Regions from separate parts of the Homo sapiens genome. Here region 2 is linked to region 1. Evidence: promoter capture Hi-C in 16 types of primary human blood cells and fetal thymus (Javierre and others, 2016). All regions are on one chromosome and are shown on one strand. Each heading gives the region's core, a stretch centred on a gene start or on the middle of the fragment in contact. The rest is flanking DNA. Distances are from core to core; before and after follow the strand shown. Region 1 holds the start of SRBD1 (S1 RNA binding domain 1). Region 2 has its middle 18 kb from the start of SIX2.

Region 1 (6,029 bases), core at 995-3,494:
TCTCGAACTCCTGGCCTCAGGTGATCTGCCTGCCTCGGCCTCCCAAAGTGCTGGGATTACAAGTGTGAGCCATGGCGCCTGGCCAGAAAATTCTTTAACAGCTTCATTGACATATAATTGACATGCAATACACTGCACATGTTTAAAGTGTGCAAATTTGATGTTTTGACATATGTATACATATCACTACAATCAAGAAAATGAACACATTATCATCCTCCAAAGTTCCATTTGCTAAGTCAAAATGTTACAAATCTTTTTTTCTTTCATCTCACATATCCAGACTATTAGTAAGTCACATAAGATCCTCCTCCAAAATGTCTTGAATCTCCACGATCTTCAGTGAGCCTTTAGTCCTCAACCTCCCTCACTTGAACTACCACACTCGCCTCTTAACTGCCCTCCCTACTTCCACTCTTGCCCCTGCAACTCATTCTCCACTTATCAACTCAAGATCATTTAGAATATGCTTTAGAAACAACGAATTACTTCCCACCCCATCCTTCACTTAGAATCAAGCCACATTTTTATGAGGCCTTTGAAAAGGCCCTGTCGGACTGAGCCCTGCTCACCTTTCTAACCACCTTTACTACTTGCTGGAGCTCCTCAGCTCTTGTCATAACATTCTTTCCCACCTCAGGTACTCTCTGCCTGGAGTATTCTTCCCCCTGCTTGTCAATTGGCTGGCTCCTTGCATCCCTTAGATCTTAACATTTCAGGCCTAAAATAGGTTTCTCAATTATATTTTAAAAGGAGCCTATTTACTTCCTGTATACAGTAGGTTATAACACAATCTGTAATTATTTTTATTTTACTTGTTTATTGCTTGCACTGCTGTCAAGAGAGTAAATACCATGAAAGAAGGAAATGCATGTGCCTTATTCACTTCCATATCATAGAACCTAGCACTTAACAGATGCCCTACAACTATTAAATGAACATAATATGTACAAATATGGTCTCTACAGAGGAATATACATTTATTTTCCACCACTCTTAGGCAATGCCACACATTGCATTCATCTCTTTCTGAAGAAGTGATGGCACATAAGAATATTCCTATTCTTCAGTGACTTGGGATTTTTCCCTCCTTTCAAACTATCTTAATCACTGTAGGCACATGAGCATATTCCAAACCAATAATTTGGAGGTTGCTATGATGTTACTAAGGGAAGAGCCACTAAACTAGGACGACTGCAAATCAGGACAAAGGGGCAAAAGGACGTGCACACTAACAAATACTAAATTAAAATTGGAAAAAAAAATTTAAATTCAAGAAGGCAAACAAAGGAGGACAATTTCTTAAGAAGCACCTAAACAAGTTTCCATGAAGGACCAACAGAGTGCTTGAATGTTAGCAGATTCCCAAGTCACAAAAACAAAATACTAGAGCTGAAAGAACCTGAGATCAGACAGTCCCGCTATATTCAGAAATCTGAGACCCAATGAGGTGAAACAGTTTACTCAAAGGGGAAAGATATGTGGCAAAGGACTATAGCCCAGTGCCTGGAACACCAAGACTAGTCTCGTTTCCCATTCCACACACAATATGTTAATGACATGTCACGTGAGGGGTTCGAGGAAAGTTGCCTAGAGAGTTCCCAATTCATTCCTTTCCTCCGGTTACTGAGCGCCTCCTACATGCCAGGCGCACTACAGAAGGTGCAGTTGATTCAGACAGGGCCACCATGACCGTGAAAAGGGTGCTTCCTCTCCCACCTCCGATAATTTTAGGTATAAAAACAATCCAGGTAAATTAGCCGGGTGTGATGACGGGCGCCTGTAGCCCCAGCTACTCGGGAGGCTGAGGCAGGCGAATGGCGTGAATCCGGGAGGCGGAGCTTGCAGTGAGCCGAGATCGCTCCACTACACTCCAGCCTGGGCGACAGAGGGAGACTCCGTCTCAAAAAAAAAAAAAACAGGCTTGCCCAGGCTTTTCTATGTCTGTTATGCGCTAAGAGCTGCAGCAATTTGGCTGAAAAGAGGTGTCACGAGGTAGCTAGGAGGGGTTTTCGGGTGGTCGGTTGTGAGAGACCGCTGACAGTAAAATGTAATGAACTTCTCACTTTTAAAAAAGGGGTGTTATTGCCCAAATGAGCGCTCAGAACTTTTTTAATGGCCCCAAAGATCCCGGAGCCCGGACGCCGGGCTCTTGAGAACCCGCAAGACGACCGCCAAGGCGCACGCACAGCTCACCTTCCCGCCCGGCACGTCAGAAGACCCGAGATTCCGTGAGTGCCACCGCACCTTCCGGTTCCCGCCGGAAGTTTTTCAAACGCCAGAAGGTCCGCCTCGCTTCTTCCGGACCAAGTTAGCCACAGACCTCCAAGGCGCGGCGCTACCGAACGGGGCGGAGCCAGGCTGGACGGAGGCGGGGCTAGAGCGAGGATCCCGAGGGAGCGCCGGGGTGGGGCTGGTTCGTAGAAATGAAAAATGACTTTTTTTTTACGTGTTATTTACCAAGAACACTAAACTCTTAAGCCCACAGATACAGCCAAATAAATTAGATTATAAAAGTAGGGAAATAAGGCTGCTGTTGTCTACATTCGAATTTAGCAGATCAAAACCCCATGGATTTGTTTTAGAAAATTCTAAAAAGCAGCTTTCCACTGCTAATGACTTATTTCCAGGGACTCTGAGTACTGAAGAGCCTAGCAAGTTATTGAAATGACCTGTGACCGTGCCTTGTTGCAGATCTACCGGAAGTGAGCATAGATTTTACTGGATAATTTTTGTGATTGGGGGAAAAAAAAAAGGATTCTTTCTAAATTTAGTAAATCTAATCTTCTATATCTGAGATTGTTGGCCAGGAAAGATCAGTTTCCGAGATTGTTTAGGGATTTTTTTTTCCTTTTAATTAGCACAGTCGTATGTTGCCTTTAGTGATGGTTCCAGAAGGCCTAGAATTGTCTACTACAATCACAGTCTCCTTCACAATTTATGGTCCTGAAGAAATACTAGAGAACACCTTACCGTTCAGGATTGTGGGAAGAGAAACCAGATCATAGAAATCAACAACAATAATGTACTACTTACTATTCACCTACTTTTGATGTTGCATTTGCTACTCAGGTTTATGGTAAGGGGTTGTCTTGGTCAATTTTCTGCTGCTGTAACCAAATACCATAGACTGGTAGATTTATAAAGAAAGAGATTTGTTTGGCTTGTAGTTCTGAAGGCTGGGAAGTCCAAGACAGAGGGCATTATTGTTGTGTCAAAATATGATGGAGGGCATCATACTGGGGTAGGGGTGGGGGAGGCATGTGAACCCAATTGACTCCCGAAATAACTAACCCTCCTGTGATAATGGAATTAACTCATTCATGACCTAATCATTTCCTAAAGGTCCCACCTCTTCATACTATTACAATGACAAGTTTCAACTTGAATTTTTGAAGGGGACATTCCAATCATTGCAGAGGTAGTAAGGGTAAAGGTGAACTAATATACTGCAAAGTCTTTTGACATAAGTCCTGCCCTGGAGGAATTTACGACCAAGAGTAGGAACCAGATACAGCCAGAGGAAACAGACACCCAAGCAAAACAGTCTAGCTTCAAGGGTTGGGTATGCAGGTAGTAGCCACACTACAGTGAGGAGGAGAGTAAGAGTGGGCCAGCAAAGCATTGAAGCTTGACTTTCCTCTCCCCACAAGGGATTTTTGCCTTACAGCTGGGGAAGAAAAAAAAAATCACAAAAATAAATAGCCTGTTAAGATTTTAGACATCAGACATCTGGGGAAAATAAAATCTGAAGCAGGTTCTCTAAAATTAAAGTATGTAGGTAGTGGCCTACTCTAAAGGCCAATAAGGACTGTCCAGAGAATATTTCCCTTGGAATTCTATAAGAGAGTCACTCCCACTACACGCTGTCAAGGAAAATTTGTAATCACTTAAGTATAAAACAGGCCCTCCCACAAAAACTGCCTTTTCTGTCTAGGACATTGCCCAATCTATTGTTTACTTTTGGATCTCAAGTGCTGAATTCCAAGAAATTCATGGGTTTAGACTGAAAGCCTGGAATAATCCGGACACCCACCTGAGACTATGCAATAGGGTTTGGGAGTAATGAAAACATGTTTTGGATTTGATGGAGGTTGTTTTATCCCTCCAAAGTATATAGCTCTTCCCATGATATTCACTGATACATTATCATTTGTATGTTATTATCTGTTTTCAAGTCCTTCCCCTATGGGTTCTAGCTCCCCAGGGCAAATGTAATAATAATAGTAATAACTTACCTTTATTGATTACTTACCTGTGCCAGGCACTAAGTTAATGCTTTTAGATGTATTTATGTATATAATTCACATATTACCCCAATGCAATATTGCTATTAAACCATTTTTATAAATGAGAATACCAGGTATAAAGAAGTTAAATAATTCATCTAAGGTCACATCAGCTAATAAATTGTAGATCTGAGATTCAAATCCAATAATCTGCTTTACTCCAAAGCAAGTACTCTGAAAGGTATCCACATACAATTTGCTGTCTATCCACAGGGGATTGGTCTGAGGACCCCCCACAGATAGCAAAATTTACAGATACTCAACCAATCAGTGATAGAAAAAGTTGGCCCACCACATCTGCAGGTTCCATATCCATGAATGCAGATACAGATGGCCAGCTGTACCACAAACTCAAAGCAAAGACCTTTTCTCGCTCCACTATGGTGGCCAGTGAGACTCTCAATGTTTAAGGTGCTCCAGAACTGTCGAATCTCTAAATACTCTAAATAAAGTACTGTCTAACCACCTGAAACATAACAAAGCTATTCTCTCTATTGGCCTCAAACTAAGTTTCATAAGAACAAAAATTCTTAATATATTAATAGATGCAACTGTTTCACCTACTAATAGATATTTGGATCTAGGAACTAACTCTTGGTAATTTTTTATCTCCCCCTCTCCAACTTCTCCCTCCACCTACACAGTGCCTAATAATGCTTAACATATAATAGGTACTCAATAATATAGTAGACTAACTCCTGGACCCAAAAACATGTCTAAAGTAAAAACAAATTTTCCTCCCCTCTCCACCTTCTCCCGCCACCCACACAGTGCCTAATAATGCTTGACATATAATAGGTACTCATTAAAAATAGTACACTAACTCCTGGACCCAATAATATGTCTAGAGTACAAACAAATTTCTCTTATGAGAAAAGTAAGTTAAAGCTCTTGACACAGAAGGTGGGTTGCCATTTTAAAAATCAAGTGTACTTATGAAAATTCAAACATTTTATCTCTGAGAGTCAATCAGTGTGATGGTTAATTTTGGGTGTCATCTTGACTGGATTAAGGGATGCTCAGACAGCTGATAAAACATTACTTCTGTGTGTGTCTGTGAGAGTATTTCCAGAAGAGACTGACATTTGAATCAGTAGACTAAGTAAGGAAGATCTGCCCTCACCCAATTTCGGTGGACACTATCCAATTGGCTGAGGCCCAGATAGAACAAAGAGGAAAGGAATATTTTCTTTCTCTCTCTTTTGGAGCTGGGACACACTTTTTCTCCTGCCTTTAAGCATTAGAACTGCATGTTCCTTTGGACTCCAGGACTTAAATCAGTGTACCCTCTCAGCCCCATGTTCTCAGGCTTTTGGCCATGCAGTGAGAGTTACACCATTGGCTTCTCTGGTTCTGAGACCTTCAGACTTGGACTGAGCCCTACTGCCAGCTTCCCTGGCCCTCCAGCTTGCAGATGGCCAATCACTGGACTTCTCAGCCTCTATAATTTTGTGAGCTAATTCCCTAAAAAATATTCTCATATATCTTTATGCTGTATTTATTACACAAACACACACACACACACCCTACTAGTTCTGTTTCTCTGGAGAATTCTAATACAACTAGCAAAGGCAAAAATGATAATAATAATGGCTGTTTCAGATTAAAGAATGAGCAAACAAACTGAGCCCTAGTTCAAAAATTTGCATATTTAATTAGCCAGGCATTGTAGTGGGCACCTGTGGTCCCAGCTACTCTGGAGGCTGAGGCAGGAGAATCGCTTGAGCCCAGGAGGTGGAT
Region 2 (6,572 bases), core at 294-2,793, 620 kb before region 1:
GAGACTGGGTAATGTATAGAGACAAGAGGTTTCATTGGCTCACGGTTCTGCAGGCTGCACAGGAAGTATAGTGGCTTCCACTTCTGAAGAGGCCCCAGGAAGCTTCTAATCATGGCAGAAGGCAAAGTGGGAGTAAGGTGTCTCACATGGCAGGATCAGGAGTGAGGGGTGGGGGTTCTACACACTTTTAAACAACAAGATTTCATAAGAACTCATTCATTCAGTATCATGAGAACACCACCAAGGAGATGGTGCTAAAGCATTCATGAGAAATCCACCCCCATGATCCAGTCACCTCCCACCAGACCCCACCTCCAACACTGGGGATTACAATTCAACATGAGATTTGGGCAGAGCCACAGATCCAAACCCTATCACCTTTGGTCACCTAATGGGTCTATACTGGATTCACCTTAGAGGAGCATCAGGAAGTTTCTTCTCTCTGATCTTTTATTTTCTTCCCTCCTCATTGCCACTCACCCCCATCTTTTCACACTCTGATTTTCCCTCAAAGTCTTAATTCTTCCTCCTCTTAGCCTCTAGCTCCAGCTGTCAGTCATCACTCTGGCATAGAAAATGCAGGAAGATAGCCCTTCCCAGGCCAGCTTCACAGAATACAGCAGCAAAACAGACCCCTATGTTGCTAATACTGATTGCTTCTTAGAGCACACTATGATAACTGAGCCTCTATCACTTTTTTATTTTTTCTTTTCTTTTTTGTTTTTTTGAAATGGACTTTTGCTCTTGTCACCCAGGCTGGAGTCCATTGGCATGATCTTGGCTCACTGCAACCTCCACCTCCTGGGTTCAAGCAATTCTCCTGTCTCAGCCTCACGAGTAGCTGGGATTACAGGTGCCCACCACCACACAAGCTGATTTTTGTATTTTTAGTACAGATGGGGTTTCACCATGTTGGCTAGGCTGGGCTCAAACTCCTGACCTCAAGTGATCTACTCACCTCGGCCTCCCAAAGTGCTGGGATTACAGGCGTGAACCACCGTGCCCAGCTTCTGTCACTTTTTTTCTATCTCATCAAAGATCTCCTGTTTTCCTGATTTGGAGATAAAGTAATTCTCCCTGCTCAATTATTGAGAAACTAAATATCCCACATGTGGATTTTCCAAGTTCTCATTGGTAAGCAATGCCCTCATTACACATCATATGTTATCTGACTATAGCACATTCCAGAAGTGGGTAGGATATTTATAAATAATGGGTATGGGGGCAGAAGCATTGCCTAGGAGGATTCCAGTCTTAGGAAACTGGCTGGGAGGCATCAGAGCTAAGAATTCAAGAGATCTTGTTCTAGGATAAAATTCCCTGTTTGCCGTTGGTATTTGTTTGAAGCGTCACCCCTAGCACTCTGCAGAAGGTCAGCCTGGGTTTCCTTGATGAAAGGAAATATGGGATAAGGGCCTGTGATTTCTGACAGGATTGAAGCCAGTGGAATGTGATGTCAGTAAGATGCTTTTGGTCCCAAGAAACAGAATATCCAATGATGGGAAAATGTTTTTGGTTCACATAAATGAAATATCTAGAGGTAGGGCAACCTTCAAGTATAATTGGATCAAGGCTCTGGCTTACTTTCTCCAGAATTCTCAAAAGTCAGCCGTCCTCAGTGTGGGTGGCCTTGCCCTCAGGCTATCTTCCCTCTTGGTAGCAAAATGACTGCAGCAGTTCCAGATCACAAACCTCATATCACTCAGTCAAAACAGAGAGAGAAAGCAATCTTCTCTTCCTTTAATGGACTTAGGTCCTTAAGTTCTGCACTTCTCTGTGATTTAACAAATCTAAACCAATCATGACTGCATGCAGACTGCCATGTTGATCTAGGCCTGGGTTACATGACCATTCTTTTAAGCAATTACTGTGGCAAGAGGGGTGGAGTTATATTGTTGGTATTAAGACAATCAGGATCCTCCCCTGAAGCTGGGGCTGGGGTCAGTATGAGCCAAACCTACATGGCTGCTATGCAAGGGGGAGAGATGAGTAGCCAAAGGAAAATCTATGGGCTGTTAGGAAGAGATGGGAGTCAAGGAATGGTATCTGGTATAAGTGACCCTACCAGGGTATCTTATTTCTGGGTTCTACCGAAATCAAAGGACTGTCAAGAGGGAAGGGAAGAAGTCCAGATGAGCAACTAAACCAGGTTAGTGGCCTGAGGCAGCTGTAGGGCTCTAAATTGGAGGATGAAGCCAGGTGGGCACAGAACCAAGAAGGTAGCAGGAAATATTGGAAGGAACCATTTTTAGTAAAATCCTTTTTGAAGTTCTGGCAAAATTTTAGCTGTGTTATAAGAACAAGGGTAAGGCTGGGCATGGTGACTCAATGTCTGTAATCCCAGCACTTTGGGAGGCCAAGGCAGGTGGATTACCTTGAGTTTGAAACCAGCCTGGGCAACATGGCAAAACTTCATCTCTACAAAAACATACCAAAAAATTAGCTGGGCATGGTGATGTGTGCGTGTCGTCGTGGCTACTTAGAAGGCTGAGATGGCAGGACCGTTCAAGCCCTGGAGGTGGAAACTGCAGTGATCTGTGCTGGTGCCACTGCGCTCCAGCCCAGGCAAGACTCTGTCTCAATAAAACAGGAACAAAAACAAAAAAACAAAACAAAGATAGCGTTTATTGCTGGGCCAGTGTCAAGCCCTGAACTGGCCCTTGGAGCTACCATGGTAGTGTTAATCAGCAAAAGAAAGTATAGAGGGATGTGGCCAGGGTTCTGTGGGCCAAGACCCTATGCCACCAAGAGATTCTACCTCTCATGTTGACTTCTATATTTCATGGTGCAAAAGAAGATGACATTGCTTTGCAACTTCTCTGAGGTATGGGAATGTGGCACCTCCCATTCTAGGAAAACTGTTAGTTGATTATGGATAAATCCAGGTATCCCTGAGCTTCCTGACTCCTCACTTTGACTCCTCCTATATCTTCCTTTCCTTCTTACCTTATACCTCTTGATTCCTCTTCTGTCTTCTTTTTCCTGTAAGCTTTTTCTTTTCTCTTTTCCTTTTTTTGTCCAGTCTCTTCATTTCTCTTCATTCTGCTTTTTCCTTCTCTGTCTTCATGTTCTCTTCTCTCCATCTCCTTTTTTCTTTCTTCTGATATTTCACAGATGTCTGACTAAATTATCTCTTCTATATAGATTTGAGCTTGATTTAAAAAATGATTATAGAGGGTGGAGGAAGGAGGAGTCAACAATGCCTGTGGAGCCAGGACAACCAGCCACCTGGGTAGGTTCAGGAAAGTCACTTCATCTCTCTGAACCTTAGCTTTCTCAACTGAAAAACTGAGAGGTGGATTATATGTTTTTTTTTCCCCAGGGCCCTTGTACTGCCCTTTAGGACATCTGGAAAAGGAGGCTAGGGGCCAGTCCCTCTGAATCTAGCCCTGGGTTTGTTTTTATTTGGGGTGAGTGGGGGCAAAAGTGGCATCTCTAATGGTGGGGGTGAAGATTAGTGACTGCTAATTGGCAGTTCAGGACAATGACCAAACTGAGGACCATGGCCTTTTCCCATCCTGGTAGGAGAGTCATGGTTTTGTAAAATAGTATTCAGTGTAAACTGGAGGCTCATTTCGTAGCACTTGAGAATATTGTCAGACAACAAAACTCACTTTATCTGGGAATGTCTAATTTCTCCTTCATTTCTGAAGGATGGTTTTGTCAGATGTAGAATCTCAGTTGAGAAGTGTTTATTTTTCTTTTTTTCAGCACTTTGAATATGTCATCCTACTGTCTTTTGGCTTCCACGGTTTCTGATCAGAAATCAGCTGCTAATCTGATTGAGGGTCCCTTGTACATGATGAGTTGCTTCTTTGTTGATGTTTTCAAGATTCTCTCTTTATCTTGCAACACTTTGATTATAATGTGTATCATCATGGATCTCTTTGGGGTTTTCCTGCTTGGAATTCATTGAGTTTCTTGGATATGTACATTTATGCTTTTCATCAAATTTGGGAAGTTTTTGTTCATTATTTTATCAAATGTTCTTTTCTGTCTGTCCCTTTCTTTCTCTTCTCTCTTTCTGGGACTATCATTATGCTTATGTTGGTATGCTTGATGATGTCCCACAGATCTCATACGTTCTGTTCATTTTTCTTCATTCTTTTTTCTTTCTGTTGCTTAGACTAAATAATCTCAACTGACCTATCTTCAAGTTTGCTCATTCCTTTGTCTGCCAGATAAAATCTTCTGCTGTATTCCTCTAGTAAAATTTTTCAGTTACTGTACTTTTCAACTCCAGAATTTCGATTTGGTTCCTTTTTATAGTTTCTATTTCTTTATTGCTATTTTCTATTTTGGTGATACATCATTCTCATGCTTTCCTTTAGTTCTTCTTTTAAACATTTTTTATTTATTCATTTGTTTATTTTTATAGAGATGAGGCCTCACTATGTTGCCCAGACTGGTCTCAAACTCCTGGGTTCAAGCAATGCTTCCAAAGTGCTGGGATTACAGGCATGAGCCACTGTCCCTGGCCTCCTTTAGTTCTTTAAACAGAGTTTCCTATAGTTCTTTGAACTGATCTCAAAGTCCTTATCTAGTAAGTCCAATGTATGGGCTTCTTCAGGGTCAGTTTCTATTGATTCCATTTTTTTCTGCATGTGGGAAATTTTTCTTATTTCTTTGCATGCCTCGTAATCTTTTATTAAAGCTGTATATTTTCAATATTATGTGGCAACTCTGGAAATCAGATATTACCCTGTCTCTAGCATTTGCTACTGTTGCTGTTTGCTTAGTGACTTTTCTAAACTAATTTAGTAAATTCTGTATTCTTTTTCATATGTGGCCACTGAAATCTCTGTTCCATTAGCTTAGTAGTCAGCTAATTAGACAGAGATTTCCTTAAACACTTGGAACAATGGCAACAACAAAAACACCCGGTCTTTGCAGAAGGACTAAGTGTGTATGTTGGGCATGTCTTCAACACTCAGCTAGGAATTTTACAACACTGCTTTACATTCTGCTTGTGCACAGCCTCAAGGTCAACCAGAGATAAGAACCCTATTAGAGCCTTCTCAGGTCTTACCTGGGCACACACACAACCTTGGGTATGCACATGGCCTTCTAGATTCCCAAGAATATATTGAATCTTTACAAAGCTCTTATTTCTCAAAGCATCTCACTCCCCAGCCTTTCCTCCCAAGCTTTTGGGTTAGCCTATTGTGTGCCCAACCATTATCCATTGCCTTAGGCAGCAGAAGCTAAAACATTTGCCTATAACTGTTATTGATAAATGCCTTTTGGTAGTGACTTTGGCATAAGACAACTTAGGCTGGCAAGATAAAGTCAAATCTTTTCAACAGGACTTCTGGGAGCCACCACCATCAACTAAGGACAATTTGTAAACGAGGTCCATCTGCTCCCTCCTGTATTAGTTCTGATGTGGGCTATTATTTTCAAGACTACTGCTGAGATGGTGAGCGTGGGATGGAACTAGGGGTAAGTCAAAATGTCACAAAGCTCTTTGTTCTTACTGAGATTCAGCTGGCTTCTTGAATAAGTGCTCCCTGGGTTGCTGCAAGCTTTTATCTAGTTTCCAGAGTTTTAGAAAGGTTGATTCTGACAGTTTTTGCTAATTAAAAAAATTGCCTTTATGGAAGTGTGGGCTTTTGGAATTCCTTATTCTGCCATTTTCACTGCCATTAAACTGGAGGGTTTTCCCCAAGAAACTCATTTTAAAATCCCAGCACAGCAGTTCAAAGACAGTAGGTTTAACTAATTATTTTCCAACCCAGTACTTAGTGTGTTAGTGTGAGTACTGCTCTACTTTATGTGACTTCTAAAGGACCAATGCTTTTATCCATGTGATCATTCTGAAGGTCTGTCTTCCAAAGATTTTAGGTTGCTTTCTGTGCTGATCATATTTCCTCTGTCACATCTATGAAATAAGAGGCTATGGACAGTCCTCTTTCCCATTATTATCATGGAACTGAAGTTCACAGAGTTTGCTGACTTGCTCACGGTTGCACAGGAAGGTGAAGATGGAGGTAAAATTCCAGACCTCCTGATTCCCCATCTAGTGCTCTCTCCGTGAGATAAAGATGGGAGACGTGTGCAGGTTGCTCTGTGTGAGTAAATCAGAATTTCATCTTTTCCATTAACCTTAAGTGTTGGCCTCAGTTGATCTCTCCCTATACCCACTTTCTCTTTACCCCACTCCCCCATTTCCATCGATCATGAAGAAAAGAATTCCTTGGACTCTTTGACAGGCTGCTACCCTCTCTGGCTTTCAGGGAAAGAACATTCTTATTGAAAGCATTGATTCCAGAAGAGTTTACTCTTTTAGATTCTCTGCTGCCTGCTGTGGTCTATCCCAGAGAATCACACATGTTAGAGTTGGAAAGGATGCCTTTCCACTTTATAAATGAGGACACAGATCCAGTCATCTATCTACATTGGAGATTCTCTGCCTAGAATGCACATCACATTTATCTAGTTTATTAATTTGGCTGTTGTGCTCCAGGGGCAGATAAAGCACAGTGTGAATGGTGCCTATTGGGGTTGGTGATACTCTGGAATTGAATTAGACTAAATTACTGTAGGAAATAGATCCCAAAACATGTTGGCTC

Evidence for each region. The method cuts DNA at HindIII sites, captures the fragments that hold promoters and counts their contacts. A CHiCAGO score of 5 or more calls a contact.
Region 2: a contact is called between a fragment that was not itself captured here and the fragment with the promoter of SRBD1 in region 1, in 1 of 17 cell types (neutrophils). The highest score is 6.8, in neutrophils.

Annotation. Positions count from the first base shown.
Region 1 is chr2:45,609,023-45,615,051 of GRCh38, forward strand. It overlaps SRBD1 (S1 RNA binding domain 1), which reads right to left and starts at 2,245. Exons shown (of 21, transcript NM_018079.5): 1 at 2,197-2,245. RefSeq lists an enhancer at 1,896-2,065. The HindIII fragment of the contact is 4,677 bases long and covers 1-3,628 here.
Region 2 is chr2:44,988,114-44,994,685 of GRCh38, forward strand. No RefSeq gene overlaps it. Among named protein-coding and RNA genes, the nearest start is that of SIX2, 18 kb to the right of the region's middle. The HindIII fragment of the contact is 2,887 bases long and covers 101-2,987 here.